Regions from separate parts of the Homo sapiens genome. Here region 2 is linked to region 1. The links are contacts of gene promoters, found by promoter capture Hi-C in blood cells and fetal thymus (Javierre and others, 2016). All regions are on one chromosome and are shown on one strand. The core of a region is centred on a gene start or on the middle of the fragment in contact, and the rest is flanking DNA. Distances in the headings are between cores, read along the strand shown. Region 1 holds the start of GRAMD2A (GRAM domain containing 2A). Region 2 overlaps PARP6 (poly(ADP-ribose) polymerase family member 6).

Region 1 (6,998 bases), core at 3,227-5,726:
GGTTCAAGCGATTTTCCTGCCTCAGCCTCCCTAGTAGCTGAAATTACAGGTGCCCGCCACCACGCCCAGCAAATTTTTTGTATTTTTAGTAGAGACAGGGTTTCACTATGTTGGCCAGGCTGGCCTCAAACTCCTGACCTCAGGCGATCCACCCGCCTCAGCCCCCCAAAGTGCTGGGATTACAGGCGTGAGCCACCACACCCGGCTTGTGCATTTCTTTTTTTTTTTTCGAGACGCAGTCTTGCTCTGTCGCCCAGGCTGGAGTACAGTGGCGTGATCTCTGCTCACTGCAAGCTCCGCCTCCCAGGTTCACGCCAGTCTCCTGCCACAGCCTCCCGAGTAGCTGGGACTACAGGCGCCCACCACCATGCCTGGCTAATTTTTTTTCTGTATTTTTAGTAGAGATGGGGTTTCGCCCTGTTAGCCAGGATGGTCTCGATCTCCTGACCTCGTGATCCGCCCGCCTCAGCCTCCCAAAGTGCTGGGATTACAGGTGTGAGCCAACGCGCCAGGCCGTGCATTTCTAAACTAATAAAAATGTATAGTAGTGGGAAGGAGGGGCGAGGAATCACTTTCTCCTACAGTGGCTTATATCCCTGAGAACAATGCCTGTCTTTTGGAATCTGTGCCGGAGCACGCAGGTGCACCTCAGGGAGGCTGTTACTTCTTAATTACACAGGAAGCTCCATTCCCAGGGGCTTCTGCCCTCCCCCTCCTCCTTCCTTTCCCACATTAGCAAATAACTGGGGAATTAAAGCTTCAAAGGTTGGTGATGACAGGTGGTGACAGACTGATGCCCTGAAGTCCAGGTGAATAGCGCACAGTGGCCAAGGCCGACCTCAAGTGAAACTCACACTTGCATCAGAGATGGCTGCAGAATTGAGGGAAATCATTTTCACTTTCCTGGAAGGGAGAAAAATTATTTTCTGGTGTTCAGGCTCACACCAGATGTCAGAGTGGAATGCTACACCGTTCTTGACTTCAAGGGCTTTCCATGGGTAGCCACAGCAAAGGAGAAATTCTGAAAATAAATGAAACATCTTCCGAAACTGGGAAGGAAATTGGAGGGATTTTGGGGGGACGGGGAATAAGTTTTATTTTATTCTTTCTCCTAAGCTTATGATTTTAGTATTCCAAGACCTTATGCTTGAATTACTTAGCAAGAGGGCATGCTTATGCAGAAGACAGGGAAATGAAGAGAAAACAGCAGGCATATACAAAAGTGAAGGTTCCTTAACAGAGTTCATGGTGGAGATAGTAGGCACCAGTGGAGTTTTTATCCAGAACTTAAAACTTAGGAAATACCTATGATGACGCTTTAGCTGGAAGTAATGGAGATATCTGATTCCAAACTCATATTTTTTCTTTATTATTTATTATTATTATTATTATTTTGAGACAGAGTCTCACTCTGTCGCCCGGGCTGGAATGCAGTTGCGTGATCTCAGCTCACTACAGCCTCTGCCTCCCAGGTTCCAGAGATTCTCCAGCCTCAACCTCCCAGGTAGCTGGGATTACAGGCACACACCACCACACCTAACTCATTTTTGTATTTTTAGTAGAGATGGGGTTTTACCATGTTGGCCAGGCTGGTCTTGAACTCCTGACCTCAGGGGATCCACCTGTCTCAGCCTCCCAAAGTGCTGGGATTAGAGGTGTGAGCCGCCGCGCCCGGCTCAAATTCATACTTTAAATGCCTATTTGCAATCAGCAAAGAGCCAGGTATGCTGCATGCTGCTTGCTGTAAGGATTTGGCTTCACTGGCCCAAATTTTTTCACTCCACCAAAAGATAAGGCACAGGCCCACTTGTCCAATCACATTTGCTGAAAATACTGTAGCATGAGTGTAGACAAACTTCCCCTGAAGCTGCTAGAAGTGTCTAGTTAGGAGAATCACTGGATGACTGCATGCAGAAGGCCTTTAGGGAACCTACAGTCCAATCTCCTTACCTTATGGTGTAAAGCAGGCCCAGAAAGCGGAAGTGACTTGTCCCAAGTCGCAGCAAAACAGGAACAGCCTGAGGCTTAGAACTCACTTCTGATTCCAGAGTGAGGCTCTTCCCTCCAGCTGATAAACATGGTCCGTGGCAGGCAAGGACCAGAGCGAACCTAAGCAGGTTAGGGGCGGGGTGGAGCCACCCAGGAGGCACTAACAGCGCAGCAGCTCATGGGAGAGCTTCCAAGAGGCCAGCTGGCAGCAACCCACCTTGGGTACTGCCGACCTCAACCTCAGGGGGTCACGGGAGCACCCTAGGTGGATGAATTAGCATACAAGTCTCTCTGGTCTGTGCCAAAGCTTTGGGGCCTTGCTAAATTTAGAAATTTGAGGCCAGGTGCAGTGGCTCACACCTGTAATCCCAGCACTTTGAGAGGCTGAGGTGAGCAGCTCACCTGAGGTCGAGAGTTGGAGACCAGCCTGACCAACATGGAGAAACCCCGTCTCTACTAAAAAATACAAAATTAGCCGGGTGTGGTGGCGCATGCCTGTAATCCCACCTACTCGGGAGGCTGAGGCAGGAGAATCACTTGAACCCAGGAGGCGGAGACTGCAGTGAGCCGAGATCACGCCATTGCACTCCAGCCTGGGTAACAAGAGCAAAACTCCGTCTCAAAAAAAAAGAAAGAAATTTGAAAGCAGCCAGCAACATCAAGGCACAGATGGAGCTTGAGCTACCCTCTTCAGGCTATTCAGAAAATTCTCCCAAGGGGAAGTTGGGAAGGAGAACTTCTATTTGGCCCCAGCCTAAACTCTCCTGGAAGCTCGATGGGGCCTCTGTCAGCTTTCCCCTCTGGACCTGCCCATTTGTCCCAGAGGTGCCCACTGAGGCTACCTCAATGCCTGTCAAACTAAAACTTAAACCTAAGAGTGTCTGCAGCATGGTCTCCAGCCAGCCTGATCAGAAGACTATGGAGGGGGCCAGGCACGTGGCTCACACCTGTAGTCCCTGTAATGCTAGCACTTTGGGAGGCTGAGGTGGGTGGATCACCTGAGGTCAGGAGTTCAAGACCAGCCTGGCCAACATGGTGAAACCCCATCTCTACTAAAAATACAAAAATTAGCTGGGCGTGGTGGTGGGCACCTGTAATCCCAGCTACTCGGGAGGCTGAGGCAGGAGGATCACTTGAACCTGGGAGGCAGAGGTTGCAGTGAGCCAAGATCCCACCACGGCACTCCAGCCTGGGTGACAGAGTGAAACTGTCTCAGAAAAAAAAAAAAGAAAAAAGAAGGAGGGGCATACTGACTCCTCACTGAAGAATGGGATAGACACCCTCTATTCTACCTCTCCCAGCAAGGCCATAAGTCTTTGCTCTGAAAGGAGCCAGACTTTAGAGCCGGCTACAGGTGGACATGGGGTGAAGACATCAGGTTGCGAGGGTACCCTCTCTCGTTCCCTAGGAGCCTGGCCCCTGCAAGGAGGGGCACCTTTAAACAATCAAGCATAGTGAGTGGGGCGGCAAGCAGAGCAGAGACACAGACGACAGCGGGGTGGAGCCCCACCAGTCCCTCTGAGTATAAGGCAGAGGGAGTCCCGCTGGGGTCCACATCCCTGTGTGTCTCGGGCTGATTTGGACACAAGGCTCACACATTCATCCTACCTGCCCCAGTGCTAGCTGGCCGAGGATGCCAGGCTGTACCCGACCTTAGGCTGTGCGGCTTGGAACCTGGACCGGGGCAGGAATTGACAGGTTCCCCCAAACAATGTCACTCCCAGGACCCTAAGACCTCAAGCAGCAGAAACCACAATTCTGGATGTTACGTGCAGCGCCAGCTCCTGTCTGCCCTGCCTCCTTATCCCTTTCTCCCAGGGCGACTTTGGACCAGGTCTCGAGGCCGGGAGACCGGCCCCAGCCCGCCCGACCGGGATGGGCCTGGCGCCCGGGGGAGGCCGCGTCGTGCTGAGACAGCTCCGAGCTGCCTCCCCGCAGCCGCGGGCCGCTACAATACGGATTCGGCGGCGAGAGGAAACAGTCTGGCCCTCCAGGGGACGCAGGGAAATCCAACCTTTGGGTCGGGGGCAATTAGGACTGGGAGTCGATACCGCGGGCAACGAATGATGAATGAATAAATGAAAGGATGAACAGAGTGGCGAGGCGGAGATGGGCCATGCGGGGCGTCCCGAGGAGGGTGCCCTTCCTTGCCCCGATGCTGCCGGGACCGTCCCTCATCCCCCAGGTCGCAGCAGACTCAGCCAAGACACCCGGTCCTAGTGCGAACACCTCGCGGGCCCCGGGAGACGCCTGGGCGCGCGGTGCAGCTCTGGCCCGGAGCCCGCATTCCGGCGGCCGGGAAGTGCCTGCCCCGTGGGCAGAACGCGCCGAGTTGCCGCGGCCCCAGGAGCCGTCCTGCCCCGCGCGGCAGCAGCCCCTCGCGGCGGCCTCCGGAACCCCCGAGACCGGCCCCCGGGCCGCAACCCCTTACCCGCCCTCCTCGGTGGCCTCGCTCCGGCTTAAAGCGGTCATCCCGGCGCCTGCACCCAGCGCCCCGACCGCGCGCCGGGACCCAGCGCCCGCCGGACCCCGCCCGCCCCGTCGAGAGCCCGCCCCGCCCGCCCGCCCATTGGCGGGTCGCGCGGGCCGGGCACAGCCCATTGGCCGTTCCTCCCCCTCATTCCCCAGCTTCCCCAGCTTCTCTCCTTCCCCACCTTCCCCAGGTGGGGCTCCAAGCTCTGAGCAGATCCTAGCGCTCGGTTCCCCGGACTGGGAGGTCCCGGAGGCCAGGGCCTGGCGCGGCACCTCCTGTCCCTCACGTCGAGGGTATTGTGTCCCCTCTGGACGCTTCTGTCGTCCTAGTCTTGCGGCTTGGGTCCCTCTGCAGGAACCAATTCCGGCCCCTCTCCAACCTAACCCTTCCCAACATAGAGCTCCGGATAAGTTTCAATTTTACCGTCAGTGGGGAACACCAAAGGGGATATTGAACACCATGGTCTGACAGCCAAGTCACCACCACGAACCCGGGAGCCAGGATGCTCCCACGCACTTTTGCCGGAGTTAACATTGCAGTTTCTCCAAGGAAATACACTTTTGGAGGAGTCTGCAAAGGGGCTGAAGGTGGACACAAATCAAAGGCAGGGAAGCAGAGGCACGTGCGCTCAGTGTGACAATGAGCTTTTGCCTGGCCTGCAGGCCCTTTCCTCTTCCATCCCCACCAGGACACTTGGTCCTTGGGAGTGTGGTCAGGGGAGAGGAAAAGCGCAGGCCAGATTTGGTCCCATTCCCAACTCTCTCCCCCAGCCCTTTGGCACTACAGCATCATGGTGGGAGGGCACCAGCAAACAGGAGGGGTCCCAAGGGGAGCCTAGGTCCACAACTGAGGACCTGGGAGCCAAACCCAGTCTCAGGCGCCCAGAGCTGACTCCTCCTACAGCCCCCATAAGGGATACGCTAATGCAGGAAGACCAAAGTGGAAGAACCATGGCCAAGGCCACTTTGCAATTTGGGTTTATCTACCAGAGTGGGAGGGAGGCCTTGTCCCTGCTCTTTCCCATCTTCGGTTCACGTAAGCCATTAAAGTCTCCCCGCAGCACTGAAGGGGGCAACCTGTAACCCTAAGATAGTAAGCTACTGCTTTCCCAGCGCCTCTGCACCAGGAGGTGGGCAGGATGGCAGGTGACACCACCATAGCTCCCACTGCGGGGCACGAGGCTGCAGCCATTCCCAGCCTGCTCAGAGGGCAGGGTTCAACCACCTCCCCCTCCCCAGCAGAAAAGAGAGGAAACAGGTGCTTCAGCTGTTGTTTATTGACATACAGGTAGGCTCTATAGCAACAGGCCTGGAGGTGCTGCAGTAGTGGGGGAAAATGGAAGGTGGAGGGTGGAGTGTTTGCTGCAGGACAGCTGAGTGGAGGGTGGGGACAGGTGCAAACTGGAGAGGCCTAGAGAGCTAGAGAAGCAAGTAAGGGCCAGGGCCAGAGTCGGCTTCAATGGAACAACAGCCCAGTGCCCTAAGGCCCCTAACTCTTGCTGGCTGTTTCTTGACCCCAAGCCAGGGTTGGGAGTCCTCTGGGCATCCATTTTTTCTAAAGGAACTGGACAGAGTACACACAGGAAAGGAAGCTGTCACCCTCTTGCCATCTGGCTCCAGGGGCCTCCAGTCCAGCATTCCTCCTTCTTCCCTTGATTGGGTGGGGCCACATGATGGGCAGCCAGGCTCTGGGCTGTCCCACTAGAGCAGGCTGCAAACACAGCCATGTTTCAGTGAGGCGTTGATCTTCTTCCCTGGTGTCCCAACCTACCAGTGCCACGTTACAGCCCAGAGTGAGTTCTACAAGCGTTGCTGGCCTAATGGATGGGCTGGGGGAAGGGGGTGGGACAGGGGCTGGAGGAGGGGCTCTGGGGTCCATCACGGCACAGGAACAACACGCATGGTGTTGGTGAAGCCGGAGCCAGGGCGCCATCCGGTCAGCACAATGACCACATCTCCCTTCTTGAAGAAGCCTCGGGCCTTGCCTGGAGGAAGAGAAGGGAGGTTGGTGAGTAAAAGCCAAGCCAGGCAGGTTTGCACCTGGGCAGCTGCCCCATAGCCTGAGTACTGAACTAGGCTGGCTGACCACTACTTCCTCACACCACAAGGTGGCACCAAACTCACAGCCCAGGCAAACAGGAGGAAGGCCCTGAAATGTCCTTATCACTCAGATGGCAGGGTTGGCAGGGACCTTTGGACATCATTCACTATCCTGGAGAGGGTGCAAAGCCTTGCCCAGGGTCAGAGCTAGCTGCTTCCTGTCATCTGATGATACCCTACCTTATACAGGGACAATGGCCACATCAGTACGTAATCTGTGTATGCCACCCCACAGCACAGGAGCTGTGGCCAATTTTATTTAAAAAAAAAACAAAAAACAAAAAAAACTCTCAGTAATGAGCAGATGCCAAAAAATGGACAATTTTGCTTTGAGCCCCAGACTAGAAGAGAAGAGGAACTGAATTGCTCAGCCCTACAACTCAAAGGACCCTTTTCCCTCCTGGCTCAGCTTAGGACTTCGGAGAATGAGAGATTCA
Region 2 (6,998 bases), core at 3,111-5,610, 69 kb after region 1:
AATCTACTTACATTTCCACCCTACCTTGATCCCTCCATTCTCTGGAGGTAAGGTGACCCTTCTACCTAAGATCAATCCTTTGATTGCCTTTTTAGGGACCATGATGTGTCAATCATTCCCCTTTCCTGTCAGTTCCTTTCCCAAAGTCAACAAAAGATGTCAACTTTCTGCACCTTAGTCTAGTTAACCTCTCCCTGTTGCCTTCCCATCCCCATACAAATTTCTCAACCCATACTCATTGTTTCTATGTTGTTGCCAACCACTCACCTCCAAACTTTCTGTATTCTGGTTCCTACCTTCACCACTATAATTGTTCTCATCCTGATGCTAAATCCGATGGAAACTCCCAGGTTCTTCTCTTATCTTCTCTGGCATCTGGCCCTCCTTGCAGAACCTGCCCTCCTTTGTCTTCTGTGCCACCATTATCTTCCTATTCTACTCTGACCTACCTGCAGTGTTTCTTCTTCCTCTGCCTACCCTGCTGGTTTCTTTGGGATTTCATCTGAGTGTTTAAGGGTATTTTGTCCTTGATCCTATCTTCTTTTCCCACTATCATGCCTTCCTTTGGCAATCTCATATTCACTGACTGTAACTTCTTCCCACACACATTGATGCATATCTTCAACCCTAACCTCTCCTTTAAGTAGCAAATTGACATATACTCTGGTAAGTAGCAAATTGACATTTCGGATAAGCATCTCTACCTGCATATCTGAAAGTTACCTTTAAATAACATGTCAAAAATGGAACTAATTACCTATCATCATCCTACAAACCTGCTCCCCTCTCATATCCCTATTTACATTGGTGGTATCACAATTTACCCAGACATCTAGGCTGGAAACCTAAATGTATTTTCCACTACTCTTTGGCCCTTATGGCTATATTCAATATATCTAAATCAGTCTTCAAGTCTTATTGATTTTATATCTCACAAATCTTTCTAATCTGTCTCTCATCTCCATTCTCACCTATAATCACACTTTAGCTCTGGCCTTTAGCATCTCTTGTCTTGACTTTTACAAAAGCACCCTACTACACTAGTTCTGGTCTCTTGTCTCATCCCCTCCTACCCATTTTGTATAATGCTACCAGAATGGTTTTTAAAAATAAATCTGACCACGTCATTTCTTTCCCTAAACCCTTCAATGTTCACACTGCCTAAAGGATAAAAGTCCAAGATCCTCTCTAACTTGAACCCTTCCCTATTCTCTGGCTTTGGCTCCTACACCCCCAGCTTGTATTTTACCAGCAATATTTAACTACCTGAAGCTCCCTACACATATACTGCTTTATGTGACTAAGCCCCTGCAAATGTTATTCACCCTCAGAATCTGTCTACATGGACAACTCTTATCCATCCTTGAAAATTACTAATCATTGGCTGGGTGCGGTGGCTCACACCTGTAATCTCAGCACTTTGGGAGGCTGAGGCAGGTGGATCACTTGAGGCCAGGAGTTTGGGACCAACCTGGCCAACATGGAGAAACCCCCATCTCTACTAAAAATACAAAAATTAGCCGGGCATGGTGGTGGGTGACTGTAATCCCAGCTACTTAGGAGGCTGAGGCACAGGAATCACTTGAACTCAGGAGGCAGAAGTTGCAGTGAGCCAAGATCATGCCACTGCACTCCAGCCTGGGTGAGAGCAAGACTCTGTCTCCAAAAAAAAAAAAAAAAGGAAATTATTAATCATCACCCTTTCAACAGACTGAGTCACTCTTCAGTGTCCTTTCTAAACCTTACATATTCACCTGTATTAGAATATGTATCCAGTGGACTCTATTTGAAACTTCACTGAGAGTGGAAAATATGCTTCATTTCTTTGCATACCAAATACCTAGCTTAATGCTCAACACATTCAATAAACTAGAGTTCCTAGAGACTTACTCTGAAGAAACCACTAGAGAAATATGAATAGCATGACTCTGATTTCAGGGTAGTAAAAATGCTAAGTAGTGATGAGCCTCTTTTATCTCTAGAAAGTCTCAGCTTCTGACACCCAAGAACCACATACTCTCTCTCCACAAGCTTAAATCTGGCTCCCTAAATTTATTTTAGCTTTTCCTGGGCATATTTCAGAAAGACATTTTTGGAAGGGGGCATTCCATCCAAGGCTCTGCCTGTCCATCCATATATTTCCACCTCTCTCTCCTTCCTTCACATGTCCATGACCAGAAAAGACCAAAGTTCTTACTTTTTCAACTGAAGACCCAGCCCAAATCCTTCCTTATTTGATGGCTGGAAAACCTCAATGGATGGTTCTGCAAAGAGAAGAGAAGGCTACTAGTAAGTACATATCTCTTGTCTTCCTGGAGTCCAAAGCTCAGTGGAATAGCTTCCATACATTCTAAAGATCATAGCTGCTGGGTACTCTAAACAGTAACGGTGGAAGAAAAAAAACATCTGAGGGAGAGGGCAGATTCTCGAAGCTGTCATATGAATCTGAAATATCCTCAGGAGGATGTTGAGAAAAGGAGGAGAAAGAAATTTTATCTTGGAACCAGAGAAAACAATGTCATTAGGCAAGAAGGCCTTTAGGGAATGGTTATTAGGTGACAGGGGATGAAGATACCAATTACAGGGGACTAAAAAGCCCCTACCAATAGCCTGCAGATTGAGCCCAAGGACCTTGTTCCTAATTTTTTTCTACCTCAGTTAACTTAGGGCTTTGGATTAGACCACACTCAGACCACCCACTTGCCCAAAGTCACTGCCTTTACCTGGTCCATCTAGGTACTGGGAGAGAGAAAATCGCAGCCTCAACACAATAGGTTCTGTCCGGAGGACCTTCCAGGCTGTAGAGACTTCCTCCTAAAAGAAGAAGGGAAATAGTTTCCAGTTTAGCAACATAGACGAATGGACCTGAAATTTCCCCTATATGACACACACATGCACATGACAGTACACACCACTGTCTGCTGATGGTCTAGGAAAGACAGAGATGAAGAATATGTGCTCCAAATACAGCACTCGGGAACAAGACTCCTGGCCTACATGACAAATTCCACAAGTCCAGCTAGACATGTTGTTGGCAGGTACTAGCCCCACTTACATCGAGGAAGCTGATGTTGATGTGGAGGTCAATGTCCACGTCATCGATAGTTCCATATTCTCTATAGAGATACAGGTGACAACAGGTGAGACTCATTAAGGGAGAAAGAAGGGAATAGAAACTGAGTTGGAAAGAGAACTGAGCCTGGGGACAGGGGAAAGGGAAGAGTGGATGACAGTTTTGTACCTAGGGTCTTAGCTATAGCCTTACACCACTTACCTGATCAGGATCTACTTCCAGGCCAAAAGCATTTCTTACCTGAAAGGTGAAACTACTGGCCCAGAGGGGTCTAGGATAAGAGGGAATTCCTAAGAAAAGTGGCCTTACTCTCTACTCTCAGCCAAGCTCATTTATTCTGAGCATTTTCTATCATTAAGTTCATAATTTATCCCACTATCATACCATAAAAAGAAAAACCTCTAGCCTTTTAACAACTCAGAAAGAAGTGACTTGCTCCCCTGCCACCCCTGAAGTAGAGTCCCACCTGATGGATACAGAGTTCTCACTGTAGATCTCCTTCACGGCTTCAATGTCTGCATCAAGCTGTGGGTGTCGATACAGGTCAGCTGCACAGCTCCCCTGAGATAGCAGCAAAAATGGTGGTGGAGAGAGGTGGAAAAAGACGAGGGAAAGAGAGAGATAATAAAAAGAATATGAAAAGACACCAGGAACAGGAGAAATCAGACAGCAGTATAGGGGAAGTAAAAGCCACTTATGTGAAGGGGTTCTCAGTGGTGACCCTAGCAAGGGATTTCATTAACAGAGGTCTCCATCTCATCATGACTTTAAAAAGGTTCAGCAGACCAAATGTAGGCTTTTGCTTGGAGTTCACTTCCTTAAATCTCCAGCTTTTCTCTCAGACCTTGACCAGGATACCTTCTATGACAACTCAGAACAGGCTGAAGAGTTACAGGTTTCCTAAGATTGGTTCTAAGTGAAGAGCATTCTGAGAGTCTGGGTACTTCTGCTCAGGACTGTGCCCTGGGTAGTGATGGCATTAAGCAAACGCTGGCAGAGTAATCTTTTAAGATGTGACCCTAATGAATGAAACTACCCCCACTGGCTAGTGTTATAAAAGTCAGAAAATAATTATGTCTAATTAAGATATGGGTAGTCTCCACATACAGAGGATGTAGTTTACTCTGGAACAGGTATGACTCCAAAGAAAGAGCAAGGGCACGGGATCAGCTCTGACAAGACCATGCTCAGACCACATCAACATTATAACCTCATCTCATCTGTGCTCCAGAACCTCTTTCACTCCTGATGTATCCAAAAAGCAGCACATATCTAGACCATCCAACACGGGGGTCTTGGGAGATGTAACCTCACCTGAACGCCATAGAGAAATTCCTCTGATTCATTATCTCCCTCCGAGTCGTCATCATTCCAGAACTGGCCTTTGATGTCCTAGTGGTGAGAAATAAGGATATCATGCTTTGTTAGGTCCCTATTATCCCATGGAAAGGCGTGGGATGATATGGTGAGGAACAGATTCCCACAAAGATTGGGAAATATAGAATAACTGAAGCCCTGATCCCTTTACACCTTTCATGTCACCCTTTGTGAGAGTCTCAGTCTCTTCCTGATATGATCATATCCATAAACTAGCTCTTAGTGGGACAGAGGAAAACATCTAGGGAATTTTGGCCTTCTGAAGTCTCAGTATGATGACTGAGAGGCTCTGGTAGCCAGTAGGAAAGAAATGCAAATGACTTCAATGTCAAGGTTGACTCCTAAGCATATCTGGGTTCCAGTACAAGCTGGCCTCTTCCAGGATCATTACCTAAGACAGTTCCCAAGCACACCTAAACTCTCTTGTCTCATTATTTTCTTTCTATCCTTTAAAGTACTTAACTCTCCTCTCCCTCCCCAAGAAAACCCACTACACAAACACACCAAGTAATACTGTTTCTGTGCCCCTTCCCTTTCCTTTAACTTCAAATAGCCACTCTATCTTCCAAAAGGGTAGAAGGGAAAATACCAAGAAAGGGTGAGATCTGCACTTTGTCTCCTCTACCCTTTGAACAATCAGTTGGAGAGGTGGGCAGTCAGTTCTCACCATTGGGTCAGTGGGTCACACACACTCTCAGGTCAGTGCTAGGCAGCACCCCTCCATACCACTAGCCGAACCAAGGCCAACGAGATGGGCATTTAGGAGACCACAAAGGGAGACAAGGTAGGGCACGATGTCAGGGACAACTGGTGATCTGTTGGGGATGGCAGGCTCTGCTGTTGCGGTGGTAACAAGTCACTGTCCTGTGGAAAGTAGATAATAATGGGTTTCATCACCACTTAATAGCTGGGTGGTGTATATATACAGGCACACGTATTTATCAATACACTTTTTTTTTTTGAGACAGAGTTTCGCTCTTGTCGCCCAGGCTGGAGTGCAATGGCGCGATCTTGGCTCACTGCAACCTCCGCCTCCTGGGTTCAAGTAATTCTCATGCCTCAGCCTCCCAAGTAGCTGGAATTACAGGTGCCTGCTGCCACGCCCAGCTAATTTTAATATTTTCAGTAGAGATGGGGTTTCACCACATTGGCCAGGCTGGTCTCGAACTCCCGACTTCAGGTGACCTACCGGCCTCGGCCTCCCAAATTGCTGGGAATACAGGCGTGAGCCATTGCACCTGGCTATTAATACACTTTTATTATACATACAGATACTTGCATATAAAAAGACATGCTTGCGTGCATATACATGCACACTTGCACATGCAGTTCTTTATAGATAATGAAACACAAAAGCACTATATGCAAGATACTGCTGTTCTACTTAAACTGGAGAGCTGGGATTAGAGCAAGATCCTGCTCTAGCTCATAATGTTACAACTCCTAAAGCCAAAAGTGATGGTGGCAGGACAAGATGCTTATGTTTACTCTGTCAGTTAATTCTTCAGAGTACCAACTCACACCAGAGTTAAGATTCAGAATCGGATTATTTCTGGACTCTTTATTCTTAGTTATTTCTCCATATTAGCCAGTATCTCTCTTTAAACATCAGTATTACTAGCTATTATACGGCAACAATAGCTAACTTAAAAAGTCCTCAACGGCCAGATCACCTGAGGTCAGGAGTTCAAGACCAGCCTGACCAATGGGGTGAAACCCCGTCTCTACCAAAAATACAAACTTAGCTGGGTGTGGTGGCGTGCGCTTACGATCCCAGCTACTCAGGAGGCTGAGGCAGGAGAATCGCTTGAATCCGGGAGGCGGAGATTGCAGTGAGCCTAGATCACGCCACTGCACTCCAGCCTGGACAGTAAGAGCAAAAACTCCATCTCAAAATAAAAAGTCCTCAACAACACTGAACATCTTTTGGCAGTTATGGTCTCAGTTGTCATTGCCAAAATAATGCCCTAAAGTCATCTTGGAACCTGCTTCCCAAAGAAAAATGCAATAATTATCCCAAAAATTGCTTAGAAAAACTTTTACTTAACCCAGAGCCCTTTCATACACAATTCCCTGCTCGCTTCTAATCCCACAGACTCCTAATCCTATACCAGCAACTTTTAGCTCCATTAAAACCTCCACATATAGCAGAAAAACAAAACAAAACAAAAAACTCATCTGTGAAATTATGAAGGCTTTAATGGCTGAAGATGGCAAATCTACCCTAAAAGCAGGCTAAAAAAGCTTTCTGTTGCTCTCTAGACCAGCAAGTCACTGGCTTTGCACACATCGCAGCTGAAGCTACTCCAACCTCAAACAGAGGTGTTCTTGGTCTCTAACACAGTTCTTCTTCTTCTTCTTTTTTTGTTTTCTGACAGAGTTTCGCTGTGTCGCCCAGGCTGGAGTGCAATGGTGCGATCTCGGCTCACTGCAACCTCTGCCTCCCGGGTTCAAGCAATTCTCCTGTCTCAGCCTCCCACGTAGCTGGGATTATAGGCGCCCGCCACCATGCCCAGCTAATTTTTGTATTTTTAGTAGAGACGGGGTT

Evidence for each region. Contacts are between HindIII fragments. The CHiCAGO score rates a contact against its expected background, and 5 or more counts as called.
Region 2: a contact is called between a fragment that was not itself captured here and the fragment with the promoter of GRAMD2A in region 1, in 2 of 17 cell types (monocytes and megakaryocytes). The highest score is 5.9, in monocytes.

The regions. Positions count from the first base shown.
Region 1 is chr15:72,193,311-72,200,308 of GRCh38, forward strand. It overlaps GRAMD2A (GRAM domain containing 2A), which reads right to left and starts at 4,477. Exons shown (of 12, transcript NM_001012642.3): 1 at 4,421-4,477. The coding sequence starts at 4,461. It overlaps PKM (pyruvate kinase M1/2), which reads right to left. Exons shown (of 11, transcript NM_002654.6): 11 at 5,719-6,446. The coding sequence ends at 6,340. RefSeq lists enhancers at 312-935, 3,915-4,094 and a silencer at 4,205-4,624. The HindIII fragment of the contact is 8,362 bases long and covers 2,295-6,998 here.
Region 2 is chr15:72,262,358-72,269,355 of GRCh38, forward strand. It overlaps PARP6 (poly(ADP-ribose) polymerase family member 6), which reads right to left. Exons shown (of 24, transcript NM_001323532.2): 3 at 5,118-5,314; 4 at 4,388-4,465; 5 at 3,540-3,634; 6 at 3,056-3,116; 7 at 2,724-2,814; 8 at 2,198-2,264. The coding sequence starts at 5,120. Among named protein-coding and RNA genes, the nearest start is that of PARP6, 6.7 kb to the right of the region's middle. The HindIII fragment of the contact is 4,663 bases long and covers 2,030-6,692 here.